2 separate regions of the Homo sapiens genome follow, and region 2 is linked to region 1. Evidence: promoter capture Hi-C in 16 types of primary human blood cells and fetal thymus (Javierre and others, 2016). All regions are on one chromosome and are shown on one strand. The core of a region is centred on a gene start or on the middle of the fragment in contact, and the rest is flanking DNA. Distances in the headings are between cores, read along the strand shown. Region 1 holds the start of NUCB1-AS1 (NUCB1 antisense RNA 1). Region 2 holds the start of HSD17B14 (hydroxysteroid 17-beta dehydrogenase 14).

Region 1 (4,361 bases), core at 1,268-3,767:
TTCCCAGCTTCTGGACACCCATGGGGACACGGACACGGGCAGCCAGAGATTCAGTGGATGGAAGCAGCTTCCCCCGCTGTCACCTGCTGCAGCTCTCTCTTCTGGGCCTCCAGGCGGCCCTGGGACCGCCCTAGAGCCTCTGTCTCCTGGCTGAGGCGCTGGGCCTTGGCATTCAGCTCTGCCTCCCGGGCAGCCAGCTCCTCTTCAAAGCGCCTCAGCTCTTCCTCGGTGTAGGCAGGGTGCATCTCCACTGTCTGCAGGGCAGGCACAGGGGCCATCAGGGGCACAGGTCCAACCTCGGCCCACCCATGTTGGAGAGGGTTGTGCCAATGGGGGAGGTGTAGAGGAGGCTGGGAGGCCAGGGCCATGTGGGTGGGCAAAGAAGCCCAAGTGGGAGGTGGGAGTGGGATAAAGACCGAGAGACAAGGCCGGGCACCATGGCTCCCACCTGTAATCCCAGGACTTTGGGAGGCGAAAGTGGGAAGGATCACTTGACGCCAGGAGTTCAAGGTCAGCCTGGGCAACGGAGCGAGACCCTGTCTCTACAGAAAATTGGCTGGGCATCTTGAAAAATATATAGAAATAGGCCAGGCACCATGGCTCACACCTGTAATCCCAGCACTTTCGGAGGCCGAGGTGGGTGGCTCACCTGAGGTCAGTAGTTTGAGATGAGCCTGACCAACATGGAGAAACCCCGTCTCTACTAAAAATACAAAATGAGCAGGGCATGGTGGTACATGCATATAATCCCAGCTACTCAGGAGGCTGAGGCAGGAGAATTGCTTGAACCTGGGAGGTGGAGGTTGCAATGAGCTGAGAATGCACCATTGCACTACAGCCTGGGCAACAAGAGCAAAACTCTGTATTGAAAAATAAACAAACAAATAAATAAATAAATAAAACAGAGACCTAGATTAGCTGGGCATGGTGGTATGTGCCTGTAGTCCCAGTTACTCAGGAGGCTAAGGAAGGAGGATCACCTGAGCCCAGGAATTCAAGGCTGCAGTGAACTATGATTACACCACTGCACTCCAGCCTGGGTGACAGGAGACCCTGTCTCAAAAAATATTAATAAATAAATAAAAGAATGAGCTAGATTAGCTAGGCATGCTGGCATGTGCCTGTAGTCCCAGCTAATAGGGAGGCTCAGGCAGGAGGATCACTTGAGGACAGGAGTTTGAGGCTGCAGTGGGCCATGATAACACCCCTGCACTCCAGCCTGGGTAATCCCAGCACTTTGGGAGGCTGAGAAGGGTGGATAGCTTGAGTCCAGGAGTTTCAGAGCAGCCTGGCCAACATGCAAAACCCTGTCTCTACCAAAAAATACAAAAATTAGCTAGGTGTGGTGCGGTGGTGCATGCCTGTAATCCCACCACTTAGGGAGGCCAGGTCAGGTGGATCGCTTGAGTCCAGCAGTTCTAGAGCAGCCTGGCCGATATGGCAAAACCCCATCTCTACAAAAAATACAAAAATTAGCCAGGCATGGTGGCTCACGCCTGTAATCCCAGCTACTCATGAGGCTGAGATGGGAGGATCGCTTGAATCCAAGAGGCGGAGGTTGCAGTGAGCCGAGATCCCACCACTGGGCTCCAGCCTACGCGACAGAGCAAGACCCTGTTTCAGAAAAAAAAAAAAAAAAAAAAAAATCACACCTCTAATCCCAGCACTTTGGGAGGCCAAGGTGGGTGGATAACCTGAGGTCAGGAGTTTGAGACCAGCCTGGCCAACATGGTGAAATCCTGCCTCTACTAAAAATACAAAAATCAGCTGGGTGTGGTGGCACGCACCTATAATCCCAGCTACTCAAGAGGATGAGCCAGGAGAATTGCTTGAACCTGGGAGGTGGAGGCTGCAGTGAGCCGAGATCGTGCCACTGCACTGCAGCCTGGGCGATGGAGTGAGACTCCGTCTCAGAATAAATAAATAAATAAATAAATAAATAAATAAATAAATAAGAGTCCTAGAGACAGGGGAAAACAGAGACCCAGAGATAGAGATGCAGTGACCCAGGAGAATGGACGGGGACCCAGAGAGAAAGAGAAGGGGCCTAAGATTCTGAAAGAAAGGTCATGGCTAGAAGAGAGAGAGGTTCAGGACCCCGAGTATCCCCCATGTTCTCACCTCCCAGCCCTCCCCGGTGTCCCCAAACTCCTTCCTCTGAGTGGATGCGAGGAACTCCTCCAGGGTCACGAGGCGGTCCTGGTTGGTGTCCACCTGGGGAGCCAGATAAGGGTGAGTGACAGAGCTGGGGGCCCGTCCTCTCCCCCGCCTGGCCCCCACCTCACATTCTTCATCACATGCTCCCGCATGCGCAGTCGCTCCTCCTCCATCTCCCGCATGTCGTCCTCCTCATTCTTTGGGTCGTACACTTTCTCCAGCTGCAGGAGCAAGCGAGAGGCAGACAGCATTGAGAGGTCCCCAGCGAGCTCATTCCCGACAACTTCAACTCCCAGCAGTCCTTTGGGCACGCTACCACTCCTGGGAGCCGTTTTTGCCCCAGGGGCTGATGGGAGTTGTAGTTTTCACTGAGCTCCCATCCAGGGGGATTTAAGGGGACTGCAGGAGGAAACAAGTGGCTGATTTGGGCGTCCCTCCAGGTGCCCGAGGCTTCCAAGATGCTCACCTCCTTGGTGAAGAGTGCCTCCAGCTCCTGCTCATCCAGGACACCATCACTGTTGATATCTGAAGGGAAGAGGATAGCAAGGTATCTCAGGGGACCGAGGACGGGATGTGTAAGGTCCCTGGTGAAGAAATTTTGGGCTGATGTGGGGTCTGTTATCAGAGGACAGGTAACTACGGGTCTCCCGCGGTGGAACGGTGGCCCCCAGGCTTTAGTACCCCACTAGACCCGTTGCTAGGGCCACTGCCTAGCGACCAGGGGGTTGAGAATGGAATAGATCAAAGGGAGGGTTCGAGGAAACATGCTTGGGTCACTGTCATGCAGGATTCTCTGGCCCTGGCATTCAGTGCTCTGGACACAGAGTCAGCTCCAGGGTTATCAGGGACCTCTGCCTCCCAGACAACCAGGCCAGTGCCGACTCCAGTTGTGAGGGGAGCCTCTCCTACCAACGTAGACCCCACAGCTGCAGGGCTTCAGGCTCGGTCAGCCACACTTCCTGTCCTCACCACCGGCCCTCCTTCCTCGGCTCCCTCAGACAAGCACAACCTTCCTCCTGAGGAGGAGGCCAGGAACCCTCATCTTGCAAATCCAGTGGTTAATTTCCACCTGCATCTGACTTGACTTTCTGCCCTTGGCTTCCAGAACATGATTCTGTCCTCTCTGGCTGCCCCTCCACCTCCTTTGACGGCTCCATCCTCTTCCTGACCTCCACATGCTAGTGTGGCCCAGGGCTCAGGCCTGGGGGTCTCTTCTCTGCCTAAACTCTGGATCTGCGCTGTCCAGTACAGTAGCCGCTAGCCACATGGGCTGTTTAAATGTAAATTGATTAAGATTAAAGAAAATGTAGGGGCCAAATTTAGGGGCTCATGCCTGTAATCCCAGTACTTTGGAAGGCTAAGGCAAGATCATTTGAGCACATTAAGTTCGAGACCAGCTTAGAAAAGATGGCTAGACCCCGTCTCTACAAAAAAAAAAAAAAAAGTAAAAAATTGGGCCGGGTGCGGTGGCTCACGCCTGTAATCCCAGCACTTTGGGAGGCCGAGGCAGGAGGATCACCTGAAGTCAGGAGTTCAAGACCAGCCTGGCCAGCATAGTAAAACCCCGTCTCTACAAAAATACAAAAATTAGCCAGGCATAATGCCAAGTGCCTGTAACCCCAGCTACTCAGGAGGCTGAGGCAGGAGAATAGCTTGAACCTGGGAGGCGGGGGTTGCAGTGTGCCAAGATCATGCCATTGCACTCCAGCCTGGGCAACAGAGCAAGACTCTGCCTCAAAAAGAAAAAAAAAATTTAAAAATTGGCTGGGCATGGTGGTGTGCACCTATGATCCCAGCTACTCTAAGGGTTGAGGTGGAAGAATCACTTGAGCCCAGGAGGTCTGGGTTGCAGTGAGCCATGATCACGCCACTGCACTCCAGCCTGGGTGACAAAGGGAAGCCCCATCTCTAAAAATAAAAAAAATGAAAAATAAAAAAAGGTATAGGGAGTTGCTCTGAACCTATTCTGGTCTGTAGGGACTGCCTGATTAAAAAGATTAAATAAGGTTTTTATTTTTTTATTTTTTAGAGACAGGGTCTCACTCTGTCACCCAGGCTGGAGTGCAATGGTGTGATCGTAGCTCACTGAAGCCTTGAACTCCTCGGCTCAAGTGATCCTCCCACCTCAGCCTCCCAAGTAGCTGGGACTACAGATGCACGCCACCACACCCAGCTAATTTTTGTATTTGTTTTCATAGAGATGG
Region 2 (4,361 bases), core at 1,102-3,601, 82 kb after region 1:
CGGTACCCGGGTCCCCACTGTGCCAGCTGTTTATTTTTTATTTTTATTTTTATTTTTTACTTTTTTTTTTTTTTTGAGACGGAGTCTTGCTCTGTCTCCCAGGCTGGAGTGCAATGGCGTGATCTCAGTTCACTGCAACCTCCGCCTTCTGGGTTCAAATGATTCTCCTTCCTCAGCCTCCCTAGTAGCTGGAATTACAGGCACCCACCACCATGCCTGGCTAACTTTTTTGTATTTTTTGGTAGAGACTGGGTTTCACCATGTTGGCCAGGGTGGTCTCGAACTCCTGACCTCAAGTGATCCGCCCGCCTCGGCCTCCCAAGGTGCTGGGATTACAGGGATAAGCTGTCGCACCTGGCCTGCTTTTTTTTTTTTTTTTTTAATTTTTAATTTTTGTTGGTACATACTAGGTATACATATATTTACGAGATAATTGAGATGTTTTGATACAGGCAGGCAATGTGAAATAAGCACATCATCGGGAATAGGGTATCCATCCCCTTTCAAGGATTTACCCTTTGATGTATAAACAATCTAGTTACACCCTTTAATTTATTTAAAAATGTACAATTAAATTATTATTGACTATAGTCATTCTGTTGTGCTATCTAATAGTAGGTCTTATTCATCCTTTTCTTTTTGTACCAATTAACCATCCCCCACCTCTCCCCCATGTACACACCCCCACCCCCAATCTTCTTTTTTTTTCTAGTCCAAGGAACACCACCCCTTACTTGCCGACTTCCGAAGGTCACCGGGAGCGGGTTCTCAGCCTCTCCCAAGCCCTGGCTACTGAGGCGTCGCAGTGGCACAGAATGATGACAGGTGACTGGCTGGGGATGTTGGACTTCTGGGTTTTAGGGAGGAGAGAGCTGGAGACCTGGAATCCCAGGTCCTGGAGAGGAGGGGTCTGGGGGCCGGTGAGAATTTTTTATCTTGGTGAGTAAAGAGTTGGGCAGGGTTTGGGAGTTTTAGGTCTCAGGCAAGAGGTGACTGGGGTCCGGGACACTTGGGAGGAGGGGAGGAAGAGGTCAGGGGGCGGGGAGAGGGCCGACAACTGAGTCTCAAAGAGGACTGGACTGGCGTATCCAGACTCCTGGATCTGAGGGAGGAGGGGCTGGGGGCCTGGACTCCTGGGTCTGAGGGAGGAGGGGCTGGGGGCCTGGACTCCTGGGTCTGATGGAGGAGGGGCTGGGAATCCGGAGTCCTGGGTCTGAGGGAGGAGGGGCTGGGAATCCGGGGTCCTAGCGCTGAGGTTTGCCATTCTCATGTCCCACTCATCCTCTCCAGGTGGAAATTTGGACTCCCAGGGAGACCCTCTTCCCGGTGTGCCGCTGCCTCCTTCGGACCCCACGCGCCAGGAGACCCCTCCCCCCAGATCTCCCCCGGTGGCTAATTCGGGTTCCACGGGGTTCTCTCGCCGAGGGAGTGGGCGTGGAGGAGGTCCCACCCCCTGGGGGCCCGCGTGGGATGCCGGGATCGCCCCTCCGGTCCTGCCACAAGACGAGGGGGCATGGCCTCTGCGAGTCACTCTGCTACAATCCAGCTTCTAATCCGCCCAAAAGCGGCAGCCAATCGGAGCGCGAGGACGTGGTCTGGAGGTACCGCCGGAGATCTGGGACCACTCAGGGCATCAGGGGGCGTGGTCTGGTCCCCATTGCGGGCCCGGGAGGGGAATGGTTTCTATGGCCAAAGTTTGGTTTTCTCAACACTGTCTAAATTTGGATTAAAACTTTGAACTTTTAGTCAATAGCTTTCTTTCTGTCTGTCTGGGGTTGTGGCACTGGTGTCTCTGAGGGGCAGAGCTGGAGTCGTGGACTCCTGGGTCCTGAGAGAGGAAGGGACAGGGGGCTTGGACTTATAGGTCTCTGGGAAGAAGGGATAGAGAACCTGATCCCTCGGTCTGAGAGTGGAGGGGGCTGGGCCAGGATTCCCGGGTCTGAGGGAGGAAGGGGTGGGACCCTGACTCCTGGGTCTGAGGGAGGAGGGACTGGGAGGCTGGACTCCCGGGTCTGAGGGAGGAGGGGCTGGGACCCTGACTCCTGGGTCTGAGGGAGGAGGGGCTGGGAGGCTGGACTCCCGGGTCTGAGGGAGGAGGGGCTGGGAGGCTGGACTCCCGAGTCTGAGGGAGGAGGGGCTGGGGGCCTGGACTCCCGAGTCTGAGGGAGGAGGGACTGAGGCTTCTGGATTCCTGGGTCTGTGGGAGGAGGGACTGGGGCTCCTGGATTCCTGGGTCTGTGGGAAGAGAGGAGTGTCTGAGGGAGGAGGGGCTGGGGACAAACTTCCAGGTCTCTAGCCTTCCTGGCAACGCCCCCCGAGGCCGGACTTCCAGGATCCAGCCTCTATTGAGGATTTGATGCGACGGCCTCACGGGGCTTTGGAGGTGAAAGAGGCCCAGAGTAGAGAGAGAGAGAGACCGACGTACACGGGATGGCTACGGGAACGCGCTATGCCGGGAAGGTGGTGGTCGTGACCGGGGGCGGGCGCGGCATCGGAGCTGGGATCGTGCGCGCCTTCGGTGAGCCGGGTCTGACTGCTGGGAGCTGTGGAGTGTGAGAAAGGAAGGATGGGGGCGGGGTGATGGGGGCGGAAAATAGGGACTCCAGTACTGCAGCCAGGATTCTGATATTATAAAAGCCAATTTGCAGGCTAAAGTAAGCGTGTGGCGCTGTAGGCTAGGGCTGAGTCTGGCAGGGTCTCCGAAGGCAGTGGCCCCTTTCTCTGGGTCTGTTGGTGTAGCTACAAAACCAGTGGTTTGAGGAATGGCTCTGTCAGTCGTGGAGTTTGCTCCGGAAGCCACGAACGGGGGTTCAGGAGCCTCAGCAGAAACAAGGCAAGGAGAGTATGTGTCAAGGCGTCTGCCCTCTGTCCTATGGGTGATCATGAGACTGGGGTCACGAGGGGAGAGGGAGATCAGCCCCAATCCAGGTGGCCACAAGAGGGCGGCAGAGGCTTTAACCAAGGCTCGGAGAGTAACCTGTTCCCTTCCTATTCTCAGTGAACAGCGGGGCCCGAGTGGTTATCTGCGACAAGGATGGTGAGTGACGGTCCCTCAGCCCTCACCTTGGCCCTTCCTCCCTCAGACCCAGAGGTCCAGACCCCTAGCACCTCCTCCCTCAGACCCCGGAGTCCAGGCCCCCAGGCCCTACTTCCTCAGACCCAGGAGTCCAGACCTCAGCCCCTCCTCCCTCAGACCTAGGAGTCCAGGCCCCCAGCCCCTCTGCCCTCAGACCCAGGAGTCCAGGTCCCCAGCCCCTCCTCCCTCAGACCCAGAAGTCCAGGCTCCGGCACCTCCTCCCTCAGACCCAGGAATCCAAGTCCCCAACCCCTCCTCCTTCAGACCCAGGGGTCCAGGCTCCCAGCCCCTCTTCCCTCAGACCCAGGAGTCCAGGCTCTGGCACCTCCTCCCTCAGACCCAGGAGTCCAGGCCCCCAGGCCCTACTTTCTCAGACCCAGGAGTCCAGACCTCAGCCCCTCCTCCCTCAGACCCAGGAGTCCAGGCTCCCAGCCCCTCCTCCCTCAGACCCAGGAGTCCAGGCCCCCATCCCCTCCTCCCTCAGACCCAGGAGTCCAGGCCCCCAGCCCCTCCTCCCTCAGACCCAGGAGTCCAGGCTCCCAGCACCTCCTCCCTCAGACCCAGGAGTCCAGGCCCCCAGGCCCTACTTCCTCGGACCCAGGAGTCCAGACCTCAGCCCCTCCTCCCTCAGACCCAGGAGTCCAGGCCCCCAGCCCCTCCTCCCTCAGACCCAGGAGTCCAGGCTCCCAGCACCTCCTCCCTCAGACCCAGGAGTCCAGGCCCCCAGGCCCTACTTCCTCGGACCCAGGAGTCCAGACCTCAGCCCCTCCTCCCTCAGACCCAGGAGTCCAGGCCCCCAGCCCCTCCTCCCTCAGACCCAGGAGTCCAGGCTCCCAGCCCTTCCTCCCTCAGACCCAGGAGTCCAGGCCCCCAGGCCCTACTTCCTCGGACCCAGGAGTCCAGACCTCAGCCCCTCCTCCCTCAGACCCAGGAGTCCAGGCCCCCAGCCCCTCCTCCCTCAGACCCAGGAGTCCAGGCTCCCAGCCCCTCCTCCCTCAGACCCAGGAGTCCAGGCTCCCAGCCCCTCCTCCCTCAGACCCAGGAGTCCAGGCTCCCAGCCCTTCCTCCCTCAGACCCAGGAGTCCAGGCCCCCAGGCCCTACTTCCTCGGACCCAGGAGTCCAGGCTCCCAGCCCTTCCTCCCTCAGACCCAGGAGTCCAGGCCCCCAGGCCCTACTTCCTCGGACCCAGGAGTCCAGGCTCCCAGCCCTTCCTCCCTCAGACCCAGGAGTCCAGGCCCCCAGGCCCTACTTCCTCAGACCCAGGAGTCCAGACCTCAGCCCCTC

Evidence for each region. The method cuts DNA at HindIII sites, captures the fragments that hold promoters and counts their contacts. A CHiCAGO score of 5 or more calls a contact.
Region 2: the fragment with the promoter of HSD17B14 here is called in contact with the fragment with the promoter of NUCB1-AS1 in region 1 in 2 of 17 cell types (monocytes and neutrophils); the score reaches 5.1 in monocytes.

The regions. Positions count from the first base shown.
Region 1 is chr19:48,917,047-48,921,407 of GRCh38, reverse strand. It overlaps NUCB1-AS1 (NUCB1 antisense RNA 1), which reads left to right and starts at 2,517. Exons shown (of 2, transcript NR_046633.1): 1 at 2,517-2,704. NUCB1 (nucleobindin 1) reads right to left here. Exons shown (of 13, transcript NM_006184.6): 8 at 2,624-2,682; 9 at 2,286-2,378; 10 at 2,122-2,214; 11 at 84-254. RefSeq lists an enhancer at 1,819-2,318. The HindIII fragment of the contact is 8,372 bases long and covers 1-4,361 here.
Region 2 is chr19:48,834,481-48,838,841 of GRCh38, reverse strand. It overlaps HSD17B14 (hydroxysteroid 17-beta dehydrogenase 14), which reads left to right and starts at 2,351. Exons shown (of 9, transcript NM_016246.3): 1 at 2,351-2,518; 2 at 2,999-3,037. The coding sequence starts at 2,431. PLEKHA4 (pleckstrin homology domain containing A4) reads left to right here. Exons shown (of 20, transcript NM_020904.3): 19 at 713-825; 20 at 1,291-1,745. The coding sequence ends at 1,553. RefSeq lists a silencer at 1,374-1,443. The HindIII fragment of the contact is 28,283 bases long and covers 1-4,361 here.